Linked DNA regions of Homo sapiens: region 2 is linked to region 1. Evidence: promoter capture Hi-C in 16 types of primary human blood cells and fetal thymus (Javierre and others, 2016). All regions are on one chromosome and are shown on one strand. Each heading gives the region's core, a stretch centred on a gene start or on the middle of the fragment in contact. The rest is flanking DNA. Distances are from core to core; before and after follow the strand shown. Region 1 holds the start of SCN1A-AS1 (SCN1A and SCN9A antisense RNA 1). Region 2 overlaps TTC21B (tetratricopeptide repeat domain 21B).

Evidence for each region. The method cuts DNA at HindIII sites, captures the fragments that hold promoters and counts their contacts. A CHiCAGO score of 5 or more calls a contact.
Region 2: a fragment that was not itself captured here is called in contact with the fragment with the promoter of SCN1A-AS1 in region 1 in 1 of 17 cell types (monocytes); the score reaches 5.4 in monocytes.

Annotation. Positions count from the first base shown.
Region 1 is chr2:166,078,774-166,084,158 of GRCh38, forward strand. SCN1A-AS1 (SCN1A and SCN9A antisense RNA 1) reads left to right here and starts at 2,758. Exons shown (of 12, transcript NR_110260.1): 1 at 2,758-2,905. The region is part of intron 2 of SCN1A (sodium voltage-gated channel alpha subunit 1); the gene reads right to left. The HindIII fragment of the contact is 13,795 bases long and covers 1-5,385 here.
Region 2 is chr2:165,946,542-165,951,926 of GRCh38, forward strand. TTC21B (tetratricopeptide repeat domain 21B) reads right to left here. Exons shown (of 29, transcript NM_024753.5): 2 at 3,054-3,183; 3 at 2,853-2,963. TTC21B-AS1 (TTC21B antisense RNA 1) reads left to right here. Exons shown (of 4, transcript NR_038984.1): 2 at 656-800; 3 at 1,347-1,384; 4 at 1,494-1,780. Among named protein-coding and RNA genes, the nearest start is that of TTC21B, 4.5 kb to the right of the region's middle. The HindIII fragment of the contact is 1,308 bases long and covers 2,455-3,762 here.

The sequences.
Region 1 (5,385 bases), core at 1,508-4,007:
GAAATCTATTTGAGACTTCATGTGGAAAAATAAGCAAACAAGAATAACCAGAAAATTCTTAAAATGAATTTTGGTTTCAAAGTCCTCACTGATGCAAGAACTATTTAAAAGAAAGTGTTTAAATTTTTCAAATGATAGATTTTCCTTCTAAGTTTTAAATTTATGTTTAGTTTTATTACCCTATGCTCTGATAATGTAGTTCGTACCATTTCTGTTTCTTGGAATTTATTGTGATTTATTTTTATCCTAATAGAGGTTGTTTTTAAAATGACTTTTCTAAGAACATTAAAAAGAAACTTATTCTTTATTTTAAAGCAGTAGAGTTCATTATGCCTCAATTATATTGATCTTATTTCTTATCTTATGTAGACCTTCTATGTCTGTACATATTTTTTTTCTACTTGACTGTTCCAAGTTGGGAGAGGCAAATTAATGTCTATTTAATGTGTTTTTATTTATTGTGGTTTCTGTCATTTTTGTTCTATGAATTCCAATGCGGTATTGTTTGATGTGTAGATAACACTTATGATCAGATCTTTGGAGTGAATTGAACCCTGTACTTCCTTAAATGGCCCTTGTTTATCTTACTGTAGTTTCTTCCCTTTAAAGACAACTTTGTCTCATAGCATATAATGACTTTAATTTCTACTTATTTGCACTTATCTAGTATGTCTTTTTCCATCAATTCGGTTTCATCCTTTTCATTTTACTGTTTTAGCACTTTCCTTAATATGTATATGTTTAGATATCATATATAGGTATATTTTAACATATGTGATCATTACGACAATCACCGTCTTTCAGAGTGCCACACTTGATGTTATTGTCCATGAAGTTGTGTGAATGGACAGAAACAGTTACTAAAAGCCTTCCTATTCTCCAGAAATACTGCATTTGAGAAAAGCTCTCTAAAGAAAATCTCCCTGGTCACTAGCTATCATTTACTGGAGAAATAAACAACCAAGAAAGTAGAAGACATGAATTCTACACTGACAAATATGATCAGTTCAAACGTATTATATATAATTATAAATTAGTTAGATACAGGAATTATATTCATATGTAAGCAATATAACCCATATTATAATGAAATCATACTGATACTAGAAAAAGTATTTTTTTAACTCTAAGTAGATCTTCTATTCAAATGCTACCTAAAAATAAATTATGTTATATTAATTATAAGAATAAAACTCATTAAAAATCTCATAAGGTTAATTATGAAATACCTAAAAAACTGTCAGATGTCATTCAATATTAATATTTTTTAGTAATATGAAAAATTGTTCTAAATTACATTTGAAATCTGTACTTATTCTATTAAAATACAGAAATAAATCATGAATTTTCCATTTACACTTACAAAGGAGATTTCACCTCTTTATTCTAAAAATTTATAACAGAAGACTTAATTGTCCTAATTTATGAAAATACATGTCACTAGATACGGGGTAGTAACCTCATAGAATCTGCAGTTTTGGCTTACAGCTTTCTCTTTTCATAAAAACCAGCATTTAAATATTTGGTTACATAGAGGAGACCTTGCTCCTTTCAAAAGAGGTAAGACAATGAAACTTTCCTAACAAGAGAAGACTTCAAAGAGAGAGGCCTTTTCAAGATGATTATGGTTATGCATTTGGACAAAATAAAATTAAGAAGAGAACTAAGAAACCATAGCTAGGAAGAAAAAGTAACAAAGTGCATGTTAGCAAACTTCAAATCTGAAGGAATTTTAAAAAATATTGGAAATAAGTAGAGTAGTGGGCAATAGAAAACTGGAAGAAGAATGATTCTTTGGAAGACAAGAAAAATACATTAAAAGTGGAATTCAATTAGATAAGCAATCCTAAAGAAGACAGGAAAAAAATAATCCAAAAGAACATGAAATGGAAGTGAGAGATCATGGGGGAAAAAAAAGATTGTAAGAAAATGAAGTGGAAATTTTGAGTGGAAAGAAATAGTAAAGTAATAGCAATAACATGACCAATATCAAATAACGTGGACAAAAGAATTATAAGGAAAAATTTGTTAGAATATACAAATAATAAATAAAGATATAATATCATCTGGTAATATCTAACTGAAAGAAAAAGAGGGAGGTAAATCTGTAGCATTATAATTAACAGATTACCTTCTCGGGAGACTTTACAAGATCAGAAAGTTAATACTGATAATATTCAGTGTCATTTCTAAGACTTTACTAATTCATTACTTATCATAAATGTTCTAGTACTAGATGAGGTTTTTGCTTCTGGGCATTATATATCTCTGTTTCCCGTAGAAGAGGACACATGTATTACGTTCTGGACTTGAGGAGGCATTTATCACAGCCAAAAGATGTTTATACTTGAGGTGACTGGGAGTGGTAAACCATATGGCTTTGGTGACCCTCAAAGTGCAGATGGAGGAGCTTTATTTAAAGTAATCCTAACCCATGAAGCCTTACAGTTAAACTCCCTTGGGCATCTGCTTTTCTCCAGTCAAACAAATATGTACGATAGCTCACAATGAAGTATTTCATTTTCCCTGTGGCATTTCACACAGAAGTCTTAACTGTAAAGGCAACCTTATAAATGCTTTGTACCCGAAGAAACTGGCCTTTTATAAGTAAATCATTATGTAGTTTCTTCCTTTGGAGGGCAGCTCTGTGTGACTGCTTGGGCCTCTGTGGTTAGATCTGTTTGGTTAACGGGCTTTTGGGCTTTCACACAAAGCTATACTCTCCACAAACTTCTGTGAGATAAAAAGGTGATATCTGTCTTAGTCCTCTGAATATTTTTTCTTTGTTCAGAACCTGAGAAAGATGAATGAAATTTAGTGTTTCCCATCCCCGAGAGACACCCAGCATCCACAACTTCACACTCTGATGCCATTGTGTATTTATGCAAGAAATACCATAACTAAGGTAATGTCTTGAGATTTTTTGGTTCAATAATGTCCTTAAATTCTATGTTGTTTTTAAAGCCTAAAAGAAATTCCCCCTCCTCACTCCCCCGTCTCTCCCTACAACCTGGTGAGACAATTCTCTCATTTTCTCCTCCCAGTTTCCAATGCTATTGTTATGATCTATTAGAATAATTGCTATTATTTTTTTGCCTTATCTGACCCTAGAAGTGATTTACAGGGAAAAAAATTACTAACCAATTGATTAGTGAACTGAATATAAAGTGCAGCTCTTATGGTTTATTCACAGACAAGAATATATATAGTACTTAATGTGATAGTATTTTGTTGTTGATGTGGAACAGTGTTAGTCTATAATACAGGCTTTCAGGCAGACAAGACCTAGTTTACCTTGACCTCTGGACTTCTGAAAGGTTGAGTAAGTTATTTTAAGAGAATTAGACAAAGATAAGTAAATCAAAACCAATAAATGGCAAAGATTTAAAAAACAGAGATTAGTCTATTCCTCTCATTTAATAGAAAACAAACTGAATCAAAGAAAAATGGGCAATTTCTTTGTTTAGAACTTATGTGCTTCCTACTTTCAAAATAAATATGTCATTTGTCCCAGGTTACGCAGCTTATTAATGGTGGGACTTAAATCAGAACTTTTATTTTCTAACTCCCAAACCAGTGTCTGCCAGGTCCTAATAGTTATGAAATATTCTTTTAAAGCTAAATAAAATATATGAAAATATAAGTAGCTGTGTTAAAATAGTATTTATCTACTCTAATTGATCTAGGTCTCTCCAAGGAATTTATATTACTTGGACAGACCCAAAACAAATACAGTAAATAAAGCATTCTGGCAAAAATGGAGACTTCAAAATTTTGAAAAATGGGAGACTCCAAAATTTAAAAAGATGATTGTAATATTCAAGTTTAGAATCATATGATGCAGGTTTTAATCCTGCTGAACTATACCTCCACCGTCAATTTATGTTTTACTTCCGTTATGTTTTATGTATTGCTAAACTGGATTATTTCTAGTTACTAACTGAGCAGATGACTTTATATAATTTATCTGTAACTCCAAAGTTCAATATAGTTGTGCAACATTTATATATCTTCACCACCTTATAATATATAATCTGATGTGGAGAAAAATTATATATCTTCAATTCTGTCTATAAAGTAGTTTAATATCCATACTGAAGAGAAACCAAAAAGACTTCTGCCAAAATGCTTGCCATCTCCTTGTAAAGAGCTATTACTATTCTGGGGACATAAACCATCTGGGCACGACAATTTGTGAAGTGTTTCAGTTCGTTTTGTAGTGTTCTTGCCACCTACTTTACAAAAGAATGTTACTGCCAATAATAATAAAAATAACTAGGTAAAATGTTATTCTTACTGTTGTGATCTCACATAACTATTTTTTAGCAGCCAAGAAAGAAATTGGTTTTTACATAGAAATCCCAAACCTAGAAAGTATTGTTTTATAAATTTCTTTTCTAGAAATAATTTGATTTGGTGTAATTATAATTACAAAAATATTTCATTTGATTTCTCAATAAGCCAATTTTTAGTAGGTTGGGGTTAACTAAAACAACATATTTCAGCCATATGTTTAAAACTTTTACATTTAAAAATAACTTCATTATCTACCCTTAGTTTTTCATGCCTTATGCAAACTGCAGTTAAAATAAGGTCAGATATCTAACATATGTCTGTATCTACATTTGTATACTCCAGGGGTGTTTTTCAAGACACCCTAATAATAAACTAAGAAGTAAAAAATTCATTCAATCTACATACAATACATAGAAATACAATACATAGTTTTTGCCTGAGATTCAGATCTCAGGCAAAAAATTCATTCAATCTACATACAATACATAGAAATACAGTACATAGTTTTTGCCTGAGATTCAGATCTGCCATAGTTTATTAGGCTCTGCCTGTAGTTTTCTCATGAAACACATCAGTATCATTAGGATGATTAATTTCATTTTTTTCCTTACAGAGAAGATTGTCATTAAAGAGTAAGACCATGGATAGTTCACATAATAAATCATGTGAAATTTAGGATCTCTTCTAGACGATCATAGTCAGAATAATTTAAGGGAATTCCTTTGAACAAATGTCATTAGTTTATATCAAGAATATAGTAATGACTGTCATTGTAAGTAAATTATTTAAGTTAACCTCTTTTAGTAAAGTTTTCCTGTTAGAAAATAAGTAATCTTATTGTGTGGGTGAGTGGTCACTCGACAGAGATTTGGGAGGATGTAGAGAGTGAAGTCTAATCCTCGTGACTGTGATTGTGGTTGCAGATTTTGAGATACCAAGTGTGAGGTGATAGGCACTTAAAGCCCAGTGTGGGCCTCCCAGGGCTGTTTAGCTAGCAATGAGAGAGGCACTGCCTATATCCAAGTTGTATATGGCAGGTTTTGCACAAAGTGGATTACTCGAAGAGAAAGCCTAATGGCCAGTCTATTC
Region 2 (5,385 bases), core at 1,859-4,358, 130 kb before region 1:
AAAAAGCTGTATATGGCCAGACATGGTGGCTTACACCTGTGATCCCAGCACTTTGGGAGGCCGAGGTGGGTGGATCACCTGAGGTCAAGAGTTCGAGACCAGCCTGGCCAACATGGCGAAACTCCATCTAAAAATAAAAAACAAAAATAGATGGGCGTGGTGGTGGGTGCCTGTAATCCCAACTACTTGGGAGGCTGAGGCAGGGAGAATTGCTTGAACCCAGGAGGCAGAGGTTGCAGTGAGCCTAGATTGCACCACTGCACTCCAGCCTGGGCAACAGAGGAGGTATATGGTTAAGGATCACTGTAATGCACAATATAGCTATAGAGTTTACATCATTCCCAAAATAGAAAGGCTGTATATACTAATATTTTTTAATAATAAGACTTATAAAAATGTATAATGGTTCTAACCACAATTATTAGGAACAGGTCCAGTACTGGTACTCAACGTATTAATAATTCTTAAATACAATTCTAAAATATATAAACATGCCAGCTACTGTTATGGGTCAGTAAAAAGATGGCATAATTGCTGTTATAGTTTAATACTGACTGCTCCCTTAAATAGATAACTCTATTCACTTACATTAAGTCTATACACTCTCTCTCTCTCTCTCCCCTCCCCCATATATATATATATATATATATATTAGTATCTGCTTAGGACACAGAAGTCAATTACACCCAAACCCTGGATGGAATCAGAATCAGAATCAGCCATGCAATGAGGAAGAAGAAATGTAAGTTGCGGCCTGTGATTCCAACAGTTCTCTTTCTGGAATGGCTACCAAGAGAAAGGTATGTGACTCTTCCTTTCAACTCTAATGATACAAATTTAAATGTGAAATTAACAAGGTACAATCTAATGAGTGAAGGAAACAAAACTGTTTCTGTAAGTCTACAGATTGCTTAGCAAGAAGACCCTTTTCTCCTCTCCCCACTCCCCACCCCTACAACCCCTTCAGAAGTGTTCATTAAACAGCCATGATACAGAAACAGAAATAAGAAAACAAACAAACAAAAAAAACAACCACCAGGCAGAAGCAGGCATTGTACAGGAAATCTTTCCTACTCAGATTTCCATCACGTCCCTAATGAGGTATCAATCAGCTCTAACACCGTCTGCACAAAGTTGTTGAAAGATCGCAGCCTTTTTATAAGCAGGGTTTATTTACATCAGCATCCTGGAAGGAATGTATACTAACAATCTAGGACTTTCCTAGGCAGTATTTACAGACATCTGGGCCCCTACTAGAGCTCAAGTCCATTCAGCATCATCCTTGGTGCAAAGCAGAGTTAGCACTCAGGTTCCTCTGAACAGTATTTCTGATTCTGTCATTTCAGTGTCCTGCAAATCACAGTGTCCAACAGAATCAACACTGGTAAGAATAACCAATTAAATAAAAACTTGATTCTAATAATAAATTATTTTGTACTAATTTCTTCAATCTATACTAACTACAGCTCTCCCATGAAAATTTTCTGCTCTAGCTAAACACACTCCCACTGGAGTACGGAGAAAGGGGATCCACAGAAGAGCCTAATCCTGAACCACTTCCATGTATTTGCCCATCCATTTCTCCTCTCTGGCCAATACTCTTCATATTCAAATTCTACCAGTCCTTCAAAGATCAGATTAAGTTCCAAAATTTCAAAAGCCTTCTCAGCCTACTCTTACAGCTGAATAGTGCATACCAACTTCAATTAATTATAAACTCATGTTTCATTTTGTATTATTTAATAGAAACATTGGAATTTAATCTTTGTGTTTTTTACATTTTGTTTTCTCCACTAGATTACCAACTTGATGACATGAACCACTTATTAGAATTCTTTTGTAGCTTGTAACTGTATTAGGCACAGTTTCTTGAAGAAATTAAGCACATATTTACATGTTTTAAATAACTTTGTATTGATTTGCATATGTATGAAGGAGGTATGTCATACTTGGCTTTAGAAAAAAGTCTCGTCTAATATTCAAGGAACCAGTCTGTGACCTTTGTTTATTATGTAATTTTTTGAAACACAATCTATATTTACAATCCTATTAGCTGTTACTGGATATATATTTATGGAAGAATATAACACTACTTCTTCTTTATTACATACAATTTGGATACTCTTCTGCCTTCGCCATTAACTATACATTAAGACAGTTCACATAACTTTATTTTTTATTTTCTGTTTTTTTTTAGAGATGGAGGTCTAACTATGTTGCCCAGGCTGGCCTCGAACTCCTGGGCTCAAGTAATCCTTCACCTCAGTCTCTCAAGTTGCAGGGATTACTGGCTTGAGCCACTGTGCCTGGCAGTTTACACAACTTTAATTGCTGGTTTATGTATAAATTTCCTTCTATAATCTAGTCAGAATCTAGTCAACCTACTACTGCATAAAAATTTGCTGAATATCTCCCAAGAGCTAGCCCTCATAAAGGGTTTTAAGGCTCTCAATAAGCTTAATATACAGAAATAAACTGCATTGGCTGTATATTTGCACAAAAGTTGTAAACTTGGCTGCTGCAGAGCAATTTATGTACATACGGTACCTGTTTCTTTGGCTGTCCTTTTTTTGTGTAACAATTACTAATATACATTCCCTTTTATCTAAAAAAATCCCTATGTACTAATGAAACCTCTGCCAGAGGATATAAGGAACACGAAAATAGTATAAGACACATTTCTTGTGCCTGATGAATTTACACCCTTGTCAGGAAGATAAACATATGTATAAATTGTACCTACAGAAAATACATAATATAGTGTGATCAGACTGAATGACTTGGTAACTGAGAAAAATAAAAATAAACTGAATAGGAAAAAATGTCCTAAGCATTGCATTTAAATATCATACCTGGATTAGGACTCATTTTATGGGCATATATCAGTGCAAGTAGAGAACAAAGTGATACATCTTGTTTATTTTTAATAGCCTCAAATTCTCGAAGAGCTTCTTGAGTTTTACCTGAAAATCAAGATTATGATATGAAAAACTGTTCTTAGTGCAAAGCAAGAATTTAAAACTGATGGAACATGTTTAATGATTAACACGTACCTTCCATTAATGTGCCATAGGCATGATAAAACCTGAAGACTGGATCACTTCCATACCTCTTAATTCCTTCACTGGCAACCAGTAATACATGATGGAAATATCTCTCTTGACAATAGTAATTAATCAAAGTCTAAATGGAAATAATGAAAAAATGTTATAAAGGAATTCTGGTGCTCTGAAATACTCTAAGAAGCAGATAATAATCTAACATCTAGAATAATGTAAAATTCAGGCAATGTGACTTTTTTCTTCCAAGTTTCTTAAAATACTATTAATGGCTAGAACTCAATGCTAAGGATTGCAGAACTGAATGATCATAAAATTACTGAAATAATTCAATGTTTTCTAATAATTTAAATTATTTTTCCTAAGTTTTTGTTAACAGCACCGAAATGAGGCTGCTTTCACCTTTTTTCCTTTGCCCACATTTTCTTGAACGTTTTAGAAAACAGAAAGGCAGACAATAAACAGGAACTAAAAAAAAAAAAAAAAAGACAAGAGGCTTCCATTGCCAGACCATAGGTTTCTTTAAAAAAAAAAATCTTCTTTTTAAAATATCCAGTATTTTATTACAGCATTACAAAGTAATGACAAATTTAATTCTTCAACATATCATCAAATGTTATCTTACTCGGCTTTGAGTTCTGCGACAAATAAATTGTCAGTTAAGAATAAATAAACTATTTTTCAATGAAAATCGTTGTCTTTAAGCTTTTTCCAAAGTTATATTATTTCCATATACAAGACAAAACTACTATCAGGACCTACTAACTTCTGAATAAAAATGGGCCTGTGCTGTCTACCATTTTTCCTACGATTATGTCTAAGGCTTGGTTGCTAACCTCATCAAAGACAGAAACCACACTTTCCCACCATCACTAGGATACACCTGATTCACCAGAAAGCAGTTTGGGCCACCCCATACCTACCTACCTGGACTCTACAGCTTGTTCAGTAGCAGTGAGAAATACAGGTGACTAAGTGACAGGATTGAAATCTAAGGGTATCTAGACAGCTCTGGTTTGTTTGTTTTGTTTTGTTTTGGAGATTCTGTCACTCAGGCTGGAGTGCAGTGGCGCAATCTCTGCTCACTGCAATCTCTGCCCCCTAGGTTTAAGCGATTCTCCTGCCTCAGCCTCCTGATCTGGGACTATAGGCACACCCCACCGCACCTGGCTAATTTTTGTATTTTTAAGTAGAGATGGGGCTCCCCATGTTGGCCAGGCTGGTCTTGAACTCTTGACTTCAAGTGATCCACCCGCCTGGGCCTCCCAAAGTGCTGAGATTACAGGCGTGAGCCACCACGCCCGTCCGACAGCTCTGTTTTATATAGTCTCTTGCTTCTGGAGGGCTATAGTCCATGTACTTCTCTAGATCAGTTAGGCGACTGTTCTCTGTAATTTTACTCTGCCTCCCTCCTTGTGATCACTGCTCCCTAACCTCCTTTTTAGCCATGTTTCTTAAAAGTGTGCTCCATACCCCATCTCCAGACCCCCACAACACATTTCAGTGAAACACAGTTTTCCTCCAATGCTCCATTCCCTAAAGTTGCAGAATGACTTCTTACTTTGCCACAACTAAGGACACGTTTAATACCTTACTTGACTTCTGCACACTATCACTAAGCATCTATAATCCTCCTGAAAGGCAGTGGCATAGCACCATAAAAAGGACGCGAATTTAAAGGCAAAAAGAATCTCTGGTCCTTCTTACAACGCCTCAGTCTGCTCATTTATAAAATGCTGTTAGTAATGCAAATGTACAGGTCACTGTGAGAATTAATTAAGATATCATAGTATAAGAGTTCTATTCTGAAAAAAATAAGTTCCTCTGCATCCCATATGTTAATGGAATAAAAAAAAAATGTGTCCTGCGCCAAGACCTCTTGTCTATGTTCCAGATTCATATTTCCATTTTCCACCTGCTACCCTGCTACTCATGAATCCTCCCTTCCTATTTGCCCAGTCTCTCTAAGTCTAACCACTTAGTAGGTTCTTCTATTTCTCCAGTCTACCTCCCACTAAACATACCTAATGCTACTGCCTTGGTTCAGGTTAGGTTATTCAATCCAAAACATTTACTGACTGCCTACTAGTACCCAGGCACTGGGCTAGCTACTATGAATAGAAAAATGAGTAAGACATGGTTCCTGTCCCCCCGGAAAACCTACATTTTTCAGATGAGACTGTAATCTGAAGACTAACTGAAATATAATGTAGTAAATGTAAGAAAAGAGCTTATAAACTCCTTTGGGAATGTGGGATAGCAACATTTTGACAGCATTGAAAACTGAATGTGGTGTGAGGGGAGGATGGATGACTAAAATCAAGGG